4 separate regions of the Homo sapiens genome follow, and regions 2, 3 and 4 are each linked to region 1. The links are contacts of gene promoters, found by promoter capture Hi-C in human tissues and cell types (Jung and others, 2019). All regions are on one chromosome and are shown on one strand. The core of a region is centred on a gene start or on the middle of the fragment in contact, and the rest is flanking DNA. Distances in the headings are between cores, read along the strand shown.

Evidence for each region. The method cuts DNA at HindIII sites, captures the fragments that hold promoters and counts their contacts. A contact is called where the count stands out against the background at its distance.
Region 2: a fragment that was not itself captured here is called in contact with the fragment with the promoter of SNCB in region 1 in 1 of the 25 tissues and cell types used here (dorsolateral prefrontal cortex).
Region 3: the fragment with the promoter of ZNF346 here is called in contact with the fragment with the promoter of SNCB in region 1 in 2 of the 25 tissues and cell types used here (heart left ventricle and mesenchymal stem cells).
Region 4: a contact is called between the fragment with the promoter of HK3 here and the fragment with the promoter of SNCB in region 1, in 2 of the 25 tissues and cell types used here (IMR-90 fibroblasts and mesendoderm cells).

The regions. Positions count from the first base shown.
Region 1 is chr5:176,629,131-176,631,924 of GRCh38, forward strand. It overlaps SNCB (synuclein beta), which reads right to left and starts at 1,404. Exons shown (of 6, transcript NM_003085.5): 1 at 1,150-1,404; 2 at 404-533. The coding sequence starts at 524. EIF4E1B (eukaryotic translation initiation factor 4E family member 1B) reads left to right here and starts at 1,545. Exons shown (of 9, transcript NM_001099408.2): 1 at 1,545-1,934. MIR4281 (microRNA 4281) reads right to left here and starts at 370; the gene lies at 309-370. RefSeq lists a silencer at 1,316-1,585. The HindIII fragment of the contact is 9,216 bases long and covers 1-2,794 here.
Region 2 is chr5:177,038,433-177,041,226 of GRCh38, forward strand. ZNF346 (zinc finger protein 346) reads left to right here. Exons shown (of 7, transcript NM_012279.4): 2 at 2,694-2,794. Among named protein-coding and RNA genes, the nearest start is that of ZNF346, 17 kb to the left of the region's middle. RefSeq lists a silencer at 258-307. The HindIII fragment of the contact is 3,815 bases long and covers 1-2,794 here.
Region 3 is chr5:177,021,295-177,024,088 of GRCh38, forward strand. It overlaps ZNF346 (zinc finger protein 346), which reads left to right and starts at 1,402. Exons shown (of 7, transcript NM_012279.4): 1 at 1,402-1,619. The coding sequence starts at 1,445. It also overlaps a transcript of UIMC1 not described here. RefSeq lists enhancers at 1,106-1,643, 1,167-1,216, 1,644-2,180 and a silencer at 1,617-1,766. The HindIII fragment of the contact is 9,260 bases long and covers 1-2,794 here.
Region 4 is chr5:176,897,939-176,900,732 of GRCh38, forward strand. HK3 (hexokinase 3) reads right to left here and starts at 1,408. Exons shown (of 19, transcript NM_002115.3): 1 at 1,329-1,408. RefSeq lists an enhancer at 2,228-2,729. The HindIII fragment of the contact is 11,300 bases long and covers 1-2,794 here.

The DNA.
Region 1 (2,794 bases), core at 154-2,653:
CAGTTTCCCTTACCTGTAGAATGGGCCGAAGCATTACATGAGGAAATGGATGTTATGACATTTTACCCAGTACTTGGCATACAGAAAGTGTTCAACACCAGATAACTATTAATAATGGTAAAAAAGATAAGAAAAAGGAGGCTGTCTGCTTTCATCACTGCACTGGTCCCTGGCCTTTCAGCTGGAGCCCCCCACCTCATCAGCCCGCCCCGTGTCCCCATTTCCGGATACAGACCCAGGCTTCTATGGGCTGGCTATGTCCCCTATGACCCCTGCTGACCTCGCCCCATCTGCTGACTCATATTCTCCTGCCCAGAACCCCCCTCCCCGGGACCCGGCCCCAGCTCCACACTGTCGGGGGACCCCCAGCCCTGCAGCCCCAGAAACCCCGCCCCTTACCCACCGACGTAGAGGACGCCCTCCTTGGTCTTCTCCGCCGCCTCGGTGACCCCCTGCTTGGTTTTCTCCGCGGCTGCCACAACGCCCTCCTTGGCCATGGACAGGCCCTTCATGAACACGTCCATCCTGGCGGCCTGGGGAGGGCGATACACGGGCACCGGTGCACTGGCCCCGCACTCTCACCCCAGCCCCTCCCGCGGGACGCAGATGCCCCCCTACTCCCGAGACCGCGGCGCCCTTCTGGACCCTGAGCCCCCTCCCGCTTTCCCCCCATCCCACCCCACTCCCCAGTGCGAAGCCTCAGGGCCGCGGAGAGTCCTAGCGTCCTTGAAACCTGGGGACGCGGGAGGGGCCACTGCCTCGGTTATCCGGGCCCTGCAAACTGCAGCCCCGTCGAACCGGAGTGCTGGGTTCGGCGCGAATATCCAGGACCCGCCTGTACACGCACGGCACAGTCACACGGTCATGCACACAAACATACACCACGGACAAGCTCACGTGCACACACAGGACACGCAGACGCTCCAACGCGCACGAATACCCCGACCCACATGGGCGCGGACACACGTCCCCACAGCCGCCCGGGCAGCTGCAAACACCGGAGCATACTCACATACTCCGGGGTGCACACTGACGCGCATCCCCCGGGTCTCCCTCCATTTTCCATCCCCTTCCCCAGCTCCCTCCTGTCGCCCCAGTCCCCTCTCCATCCTCATCCCGTTCCCCATCCCCGGCGCGCGGCCGCCTCACCTGGATGCGGGGCCGGGGCTGGGGATGGAGCGGCGGCTGCGGCGGGCGGACGCGGGGGCTCCGCTAGGCCAGGCCGGGGTGGACCAGGGGCCGGAGGGGGGATAGGGCCGGGATCAGGCGCTCGGGTCGCGGGTCCTGAGCAGGAGCGCAGCAGTGCCCGGGTCTCGGGTGCGTAGCCAGCCACCGCTCGTTCCTCGCGCCCTGCGAGCTCGCGCGCTCCGGCTCCGGCTCCGGCTCCGGCGCTGCGGCAGCTCTGAGCTCAGCGCCCCCGCTGGCGGCCGCGCCGCCCCTTCGGCCTGACTGACAGGGGGCGGGGAGGGTGACAGCGCGTAGCCGATGAGCCTCCCGGGGCGGGCCCGGGACGCGCCCCTGGGGGCCCCGGCCGTAAGACTCGCGTAGTCTGTTGGGAGTTGAGGGAGGGGGACAACGCGGCGTGTGAAGAGTGGGGAAGAAATCACGCGACTGGATTTGGAGTTCTGCTGGGCTCGAATCTCAGCTGTGCTTTTTATTAACCGTGGGACCTTGAGCTACTCGGCTCTCCTTTCTGAATGACAGTTTCCTCCTCTGTAAAACAGGAATGGTTAATTCAACGAATGTTTACTGAGCGCTTAGTCCAGTGGTGCAGGTTTAAGGCTGGAGGCAGCGGAAAAGGAAAACAAGGTTCCTGGTCTCGGGAAGCTTACCATGGGGGTGTCTGTACGCGTGTGTGTTCGTGCGCTCAGTGGTGGAAGACAGGACAGAAAATAAACGGATCAACATCCAAAGCAACAAGGTCATTACAGCTTGTAAGTTGTGAAGGTAACGGTGATGTAACACGGGGACTAGAGGAGGGGTGCTTGAGACAGGGTGCTCAGGGAAGGCCTCTACCAGCAGGTGAATTGTAGCAGAGACTCCAGAGAGGCACCATGACACCACGATGGGTGAGGACAAGATCCATAGAGAGTGCAAGTGCAAAGGCTCCAAGGCAGGACTGTGCTGACAAAAGACAGCGCAGCTGGAGAGCCAGGATGGAGGGAGGTGGAGAACAAAACCACTTTTTTGTGTGCTTACGGTGGGGACTGTCAAAATGATCACAGAATGCCAGGCACACAGTAGGCCCTCAGTTGGTTCTATGATAGAATTATGCCCAAGAAGCTGTAGTATCCCAGAGGAAAGGGACTCTGACAACTTAGGGGAGTCAGGAAAGGACATAAAAAAGAGGTGACAACTGAACTGTGGCCTGACAGGAAGGGGACTATTTCATCGAGCAGGCTAGGGAGAAAGAGAATTTTAGGCTGTGGGTACAGCATGGGCAAAGGCACTGTGGCCAGAAATGCAGGGTGTGTAAGTGACAGGTAATTAGGCGAGGGGGCCACCAGCAGCCAGACTGCAAAAAAAAAAAAAAAGGAAAAAACCCAACCAACCAAACAAAAAACATTCACAGGCCGCTGGTAGAACTGCAAATTGGCGCAGACATTTTGGAAGGCAATCTGGCAATGTTTACCAAGCATAAATGCATGCGCCTTTGGAGCCAACAGCTCCCCTTCCAGGAATTGATCCCGTGCGACTCTAGCCATACATGCACACAAAGATACCTGTGCAAGGATGTTCACTGTAGCATGTTTTTTTGTAGCAAAAAACTGAAAATGATCTAAATGATCATCTG
Region 2 (2,794 bases), core at 148-2,647, 410 kb after region 1:
TCTCCTGCCCCGTCATTCTCTACCCCGTACTCTGCTTGTTTTCATAGCATTTCTAATTCTCTGTCATTGTCTTGCTTATTTTTTACTTTATACCCCATCTTCTTTGTTGGTATGGCCCCCAGCACTAAGTGCAGTGTTGACACAAAGCACGTATTATAAATATATTTGTGTGGACTATGTGAATGTACTCTCTAAGGCCAGAGAGTGCATTCCAGCAGAGAGGTACATTTATTTAGCAGGTGCTTACCTGCCCTTGCTGTGGGTTTGGGAGTCTGATTCTGAATATGCTTGAAACCTCATCTCTTGAACAAAACAAAATCCACAATCTCCAGGTGAGGAAGTGATGACTGAACTCTGACCCCTGGGTATTACCTTCCCCATGTGGGTTTCTTATTGTGAGAAGCCTCTGACCCTCTTTTTTTTCTTCTTTTTTCTTCTTCTTCTTGTGTGTGTGTGTGTGTGTGTGTGTGTGTGTGTGTGTGTCCGAGTTTTGCTGTTGCTCAGGCTGGAGTGCAATGGCACAATCTCGGCTCACTGCAACCTCTGCCTCCCAGGTTCAAGTGATTGTCCTGCCTCTGTCTCCCAAGTAGCAGGGATTACAGGCATGCTTCACCACACCCGGCTAGTTTTGTATTTTTAGTAGAGATGGGGTTTTACCATGTTGGCCAGGCTGGTCTCAAACTCCTGACCTCAGATGATCCACCCACCTTGGCCTCCCAAAGTGCTAAGATTACAGGCATTACCAATCGTGCCTGGCCACCTCTGACCCTCTTTTAAAAGTTCTGGGCCAATTTTGTTTATAGAGTCATTTCTCTTGGTTTTTCAGAGCATAGCTAAGACAGGCAAGGTCTTTCACAAAAATTTACCATTTAAAAGAAAAATGCAGAAATAAAAAGAGATCATTAGGGGCAGAAATACAGCCCTTCTGCCTAAAAGGGCTGACATAGGTAAGCTTTAGATTTTGTGGATTAAGGAGAGACATCTTAAAAGCTCCCCACCAAGAACCTCTTCCAGGGCATCGACTTTTTTTTTTTTAAGACAGGGGCTTGCTCTGTTATCCAGGCTGGAGTACAGTGGCACTAACATGGCTTGCCATAGCCTTGACCTCCTGAGCTCAAGCAATCCTTCTGTCTCTGTCTCAGCCTTAGCCTCCCATGAAGCTGGAACCACAGGCATGTGCCACCACCCCCGGCTAGTTTTTGGTTTGTTGGTGTGTTTGTTTCTATGTAGAGACAGAGTCTCACCATCTTGCCCAGGCTGGTCTCAAACTCCTGGGCTCAACCCATCCTCCCACCTCAGCCTCCCAAAATGCTGGGATTACAGGTGTGAGCCACTGTGCCTAGCCTTGACCACTTTTTGGCTGAGACCAGGAGATTAAAAATGTGGGCCTGCCCTCCTCTCCCAGTTTTAGACTCTGCCTCTGCCTCTGCCTCACATTGCCAGCGCCATGATAGAACTCATGCCTTGGCCGGGCGCGGTGGCTCACGCCTGTAATCCCAGCACTTTGGAAGGCCAAGGTGGGTGGATCACGAGGTCAGGAGATCGAGACCATCCTGGCTAACACGATGAAACCCCGTCTCTACTAAAAATACAAAAAAATTAGTTGGGCGTGGTGGTGGGTGCCTGTAATCCCAACTACTCGGGAGGCTGAGGCAGGAGAATGGTGTGAACTTGGGAGGCGGAGCTTGCAGTGAGCCGACATCATGCCACTGCACTCCAGCCTGGGTGACAGAGCGAGACTCCCTCTCAAAAAAAAAAAAAACAAACAAAAATGAACTTATGCCTTGGGAGAGATTTTACCTCCTCTTCTCTTCTCAAAAAGGTAAGACTGTTCTCCAGGCACAATAATTTAAGCACAGGTTAATACCATGTTTCATATAGTGTGGCACTTATATAATACGTTATGTGATTTTATTTTATTTATTTATTTAGAGACAGAGTCTAGCTCTGTCACCCAAGTTGGAGTTAGTGGCACAACCTCAGCTCACTACAACCTCTGCCTCCTGGGTTCAAACAATTCTCCTGCCTCAGCCTCCCGAGTAGCTGGGATTATAGGTGCCTGCCACCACACCTGGCTAATTTTTGTATTTTTAGTAGAGACAGGGTTTCACCATGTTGGCCAGGCTGGTCTCGAACTCCTGATCTCAGGTGATCTGCCCACCTCGGCCTCCCAAAGTGCTAGGATTACAGGCGTGAGCCACCACGCCCCACCCTGTTATGTGATTTTAAATGTTTCAAAGTCAGATCAAGAACAATGAGAAAAGTATTCCTTTTTCGAGTCTTTCAGTCCTCCTGATTCTATCTGGGAAGAAGTTTCAGTTGGGTGCTACCATATCTTAAAACCTCTCAGCACAGTTGCTGTTCTCTTCTTCCTGGGGAATGCTCCAAGCCTCATTTTTATCATATTTATTTTTATTGGTATCTGCTTAAGTTTATGATCTAAAGATTCCTTTTTAAAAGAAGTTCCTAAGTAAAGAAAGTTGGCATACATAAAATTATAAAATAAGTAATAGTGTAGGTGGTGTGAGAACACAGCATGAGTCACGGTGGCAGTAGGAAAGGCTGGCTGAGGTCTGCCAGTGTCCTAGTATGGCATCCCATCATTCAGTGCCTGTGTTTGAGGCAGGGTTCAAAGGCAGTGCTGTTGAGGTAGTGTTTGTCAACTCAATGATTTCTTGTTTTCCCCTCTATAGTGGAGCACATGATCCAGAAGAACCAATGTCTCTTCACCAACACCCAGTGTAAGGTTTGCTGCGCCTTGCTTATTTCTGAGTCCCAGAAGCTGGCACATTAC
Region 3 (2,794 bases), core at 152-2,651, 390 kb after region 1:
GAAAGAAAAGAAAAGAGACAAAAATCCCTGCCTTCCTGGGGCTTGCCTTCTAGTCGGGAGACAGACAATAAGCAAGATAAAAGGTAAAATATAAAAGAAATAAAGCAGGAAAGAAGGACATGAAGTGTGTGTGGAAAAGTAACATTTTAGATGGGATAGCCAGACAAGGTATTTTAGATAGAGTAGCCAGAGAAGGAAGTGGGAGACTGAGCCATGAAGATATATGAGAGAAATTCACCCCAGGAGGCCTGGATAACTGGGACAGGAATTAAGGAGTTGGGGACTGAGTAACACATCAGGATCAGGGAGGTTAAGGGAAGTCAGATTGTACAGGGCCTTGTTGGTCGAAGTAAGGACTTTGGCTTTTTTTTTTTTTAGTCGGAGTTTCGCTCTTGTTGCCCAGGCTGGGGTGCAATGGCGCCAGCTCGGCTCACAGCAACCTCTGCCTCCCGGGTTCAAGCCATTCTCCTGGCTCAGCCTCCGAGTAGATGGGATTACAGGCATGTGCCACCACACCCGTCTAATTTTGTATTTTTAGTAGAGACGGGGTTTCTCCATGTTGGTCAGGCTGGTCTCGAACTCCGGACCTCAGGTGATCCGCCCCCCCTTAGCCTCCCAAAGTGCTGGGATTACAGGCGTGAGCCACCGCGCCTGGCCGGACTTTGGCTTTTACTAAGAGTGAGATGGGAAGCTGTTGGAGGATTTGAGAACCTAAGCGTCATGATCTGACTTGTCATAAGAGGATTCCTGGAACTGCTGTGCTGGGAATGCCAGTGAGGTTGCTACTACAATAACCTAGGCAAGAGATGGTGGCTCCCAAAGACACGGGAAGGAGCAGCTCTGGGGTTGGAAGATAAAATTTGGGGTCTGACAGCTACATTGGAGAAGCCTATTAGCCATTCGAGTGAACTGTGGAAGAGGCAACTGGATGTATACAGGTCCGGAGTCTCGGGGAAGATCAGAGCTGGGAGCTGGCACTTGGAACTCAACAAATAGTATGTATTATTAGCAGTAATATGGAACCTTAGCTGTACTACTACTTACTAGTAGCGAGCTCTTGAGTTAACCATTTTTAGGTTCTGGGCCTCAGTTTCCCTGTGAATGAAATGGCGAAAACACTCCCACATAACGGGACCTTGAGAACGAAATGAAAAGTATCAAGGGCTGACCGTGAGCAAGGTGAGAGCCATGAGCCAAAACCACACGAGCCTCTCCGGGAGGGGGGGGTCACTGCTGCGGAATCAGCGACAGGTTTCCGAATCCACGGCACACGCTCTGAGGTACCAGAGGTAGCAAAGCAAAATAAGCGCGGGGTCCCGCACGGCAGCGCGGGTGCAGCGCCCAAACCTCGCGAGATTTGTTGGCTGGGCCAAGTACCACCCACCAAATCTCGCGATACCTAGGCGCCTGAGAGGCTCTCTACCGGTGAGGGTTTGCGGGGAAGATGGAGTATCCCGCGCCGGCCACGGTGCAGGCCGCGGACGGCGGAGCGGCCGGGCCTTACAGCAGCTCGGAGTTGCTGGAGGGCCAGGAGCCGGACGGGGTGCGCTTTGACCGCGAGAGGGCGCGCCGCCTGTGGGAAGCCGTGTCCGGTGCCCAGCCGGTGGGTAGAGAGGAAGGTGAGTCGGGGGCTTTGGAGGCAGAAAGCCCCTCGCCCGCTGCGCGGCTCGCGGGGAACTGCGGAAGCGCCGACGGTCACACCCCCTGGCCCGCCTCCTTGCGTGCTGCGCCCCGGGACCCCCAGACTTGTGCTCCCCATCCGGGCGCGGGCACCCCAAGAATCGGGCCCCCAGCGCGCTGAGGGTGAAGGGCCGCTCACGCTCAGGCCCTGGGTTTTCCTCCTCCTCCTTCATCATTCACTACAGCGCAGTTTTTCCCACATTCGAGGACTGTCATCCCTATACTCGTCCTGTCGGAGACCTACAGTCTTTGCCATCCCGGTAAGCCAAGCCGAGTGCCCCTCACCACTCCTTGACTCCCCATCGTCCCAATCTCCAGATTTCCTCCTAGGGCCTCTCGCCTCCCTTCTCTCAAGCCCCACACTTCCGAGGGCTCTGGAAGGCCTTCTCCTTACCCCCTGGGTTCCTCCTGGTCTTGATGACTGAGCCCTGGCTTACCCGTTTTTAGCTCTCTGGCCTCTACTTGCTGGGTCCCTTATTCTAAGGTGGGGACAAGGAGCCTGAGAAACTGGTCTGGGTTTGCTTTGGCTCCAGCTTCTTTGTGTCCTACACTTGACCCAAAGTTGCTGAGAACAGTGTATGCAAAGCCACGTTAGGGGTCACTCCTGGGCCGAAGCGCCCCAGCTTGCTCTGCACTTGACCTGAGACTGGGTAAGATGGGATGAAAGAAAGAGAAGGATGGAAAAGAGCTGTCCTGACCTGCTTGTGTGACTCCCTTCACTGTCCTTTACAGAGCCAGCTGCTTGATGCTAACCCAGATGTACAAGAACTCTATCTGGGCTTCTCTGCTAACCTTGTCAGGTATCTGGAGGGAAATCAGATTTCTCCAGTGATTTGTTTGCTTGCTGAGCAGACTTGTCTTCGAAAGTTTAATATGCTATTTGTGAACTGACTGCCCTGGATAAAATTGGATAAAATTGAAATTTTGACCATATCTAAGGAAGGTACACAGACCTATACCCTGGTATATACTTCTCCAATTTAAAAACAAGTCTAGCCTGTCTCCTAAGTTTATATATATATATAATGTATATTATATATAAAAAAGAAGGAGACAGGGCCCCAGAAATGGTGTGTGTGTATGCGTATATATAATATACACACACATAAATGTA
Region 4 (2,794 bases), core at 158-2,657, 270 kb after region 1:
TTTCCATCACCTTACCCCCACAAAGCTCTTCTGTTCTCCACCTTGACTGGAGACATCGAAGTGTGCTCACTCACACGGCCGTTCGGGCTGCCTGCGCGCATCCCTCACCCTCACCTCCTCTATGCAATTGGATCTCAGGCTCTCTAAGAGCTCTCCTCTGCATCCCCTCCTCCCCATTCCCACACACTGCACCAGACCATCCTCCGGCCTGATTATTACAACAGCCTCCTAAACTGATAGCTCTGCTTCTAGTTTCTTCACCTCCTTACCCCACCCAACTTGATCACCTCTGCACTCATGGCCGGCACAGGGTCTGGTATAGGTATGTGCTAATGTGCCTTTCCAAAATTGGAAGCAAGGGGAGTGGGTAGTTTTTTATTTAATAAAGCAACAAATCAGCTTCTGATAAATCTCCCCAAACCATACATACCTATGCTGAGTTTCCAAATCTGTCAAATAGGGGTGTGGAATTCTTGTTCTATGCTGCAGGTCTATTTCAAGGATAAAATGAGGTAACTGGGGCAATTACCTTCGAAAAGGACTAAGGGCTACACACGTGTCTTTCTCAAGGCCCAGCTAGTTCATTTATTCATTCACTCACTCATTCATTCCCTCATCCATTCAATATTTATTCAGCATTTTTACATGACAGAATCTGTGAAGCAATCCCCAAGTAGCCCTAATATTTATATGCTAGGTAAATGTATTCAGCTCTGTCTCTTCCCACTGAGATTCCCTGTGGGGAGGGACATGTCTCCTTCACTGCAGTATCCCCAGAGCCCAGGGTCTGTTTGCCTAAGGGCCCCGTGGCTTCCCTTAGCTGAATGGGCTACACGAAGTGAGTTTTCCTCCTGAAAAGTACCCCAGGGACCTCTACTGATGTTGGGAGCTGCCATCGAGAACCAGCTGGCAGGCTGGGTGTGGTGGCTTGCACCTGTAATCCCAGCACTTTGGGAGGCTGAGGCAGACAGACTGCTTGAGCCCAGGAATGTGAGACTAGCCTGGGCAACATGGCAAAACGCCATCGCTAGAAAAAAATAACAAAAATTAGCTGGGTGTGGTGGTGTGCGCCTGTAGTCTCAGCTACTCCGGAGGCTGAGGTGGGAGGATCACTTGAACCCAGGAGGTCAAGGCTGGAGTGAGCCCTGACTGTGCCACTGTACTCCAGTCTGGGTGATAGAGAGAGAGACCCCATCTCAAAAACAAAGAAAGAGAACCAGCTGGCTTAATCTTTCCAGTGTCCACTTCCCCTGGTGTGAGCCAAACAGGAGGGATGAGGACAAGACAGCTGTGGAAGGAGCAGGCAGTAATTAGACCGAAGTGCTTACCTGGGACACAGAGAAGCTAGTCACTCTCCTCAGGTCTGAGCTCTTGTCTGGCAATATGAGGCACCCCAATGACCAAAAGCAACACTCAGGGGTGACCCGAGTTATAATATCCTCAAGCCCCACCCTTTTCCTCCACCACCACTTACCAAACATCAGCTAATTCAGGAAGCTGCACTTCCTTCCAAGCCTGCCCTAAGAGTAGCCCAGGCTAGGCAAGGCTGTGGTGAAAACTTGAGCAAGATGATTACCGCGAAGTGGAGCGTTGAACTGGGTCTAAGATTTTGGGCCATTCCCTCTACAATGCTGAGGGCTGTTTATTTTGCAAATATAGTGAGTTCTGAGGTGGTGGCTCGCCCCTAGAAGGAGCTGGAGGCGCCTAGCCTGGAAAGGTTATGGTAAGTACTTTTGAGCAAGAGGCAATGTGGGAGCACAAGCGGAAGGGACTGACTCTGCCGAGAGTGGGCAGGGCTAGCTGAAGAAGCTGAGTCTTGAAGAAAGAACAGCAGTATGCTGACAAAAGTGGTCCTTGACAAAGTGGAGAGCATGTGCACAACCACAAATCACACACACACAGCAATGAGGTGCAGCTCCAGGCGCCTGAAGAGGGTACACCAAGGTAGGAATATATAGTGGGAGAGGAGGTGACAGGCAGACTGCGGAGTCTAGCCTTTAGTCTGTAGCCTGCGCAGGGAGAGTAGGTTCACATCTTAGGTCTTCTCTACTGGAAGAAGGGGAGTGTTAGGCTGCTGTGGAGCTATTGGCGAACAAGCTGTTTTTCTGTGGGAATTTCTCCTCAAAGGCACAGAACCTTGGGGCACCAATGTAGAATACTAGACAGCCTGCAACAATCTTTGTTGAAGGCATGGATACACTTTAAAGCTTCAGGCTGCCTTGTCAGCAGTAACTCTATCCACAGATAGTAGGCCTCCACATGACATCAGGATGGAGACCAGAGATAGTGGCTCCTCTATCAGTAGTGGCATGAAGAGGCCAGGAAACATGCCAAACATCAGTCCTGCTGTGAAGTTTACTGGGTACCAACCAGGCATATAGGCTGTGAAAGGCAGGGAAGTGGGGGATGGGGTGGCAGAGGGTAGAGTGGCTGTCACAAACAACACAGCATCCTGCCTAGCCTGGGATCCCAGTCCCTTTCAACTTTGTTCAGTTGGGAGAGGAGAATGTGGAACTGACTATGAAAGGCCCAGCTGTGATTCATGCAGATAGCCTGCCATTTCTTGAGCCAGGGTGAGGATATGCCCCTGACAAGCATGGCCAGGGCTCTTCATCTGCGTTTCTGGAAGGTCTGTGTCCAGACCCCAGGAGCAGGGGTCCTGGTTCCCTAGTCAGAATGCCAGGGAAAGTCTGGGTCAAGGCCAGTGGAGGGAGAAGGATGGCTGAGCTTGAGGTCTGTGAGCAGCTGGGACAGCCTGGCTGTAGCAGAGGCACTGCAGCTGCCAGCGGTTCTC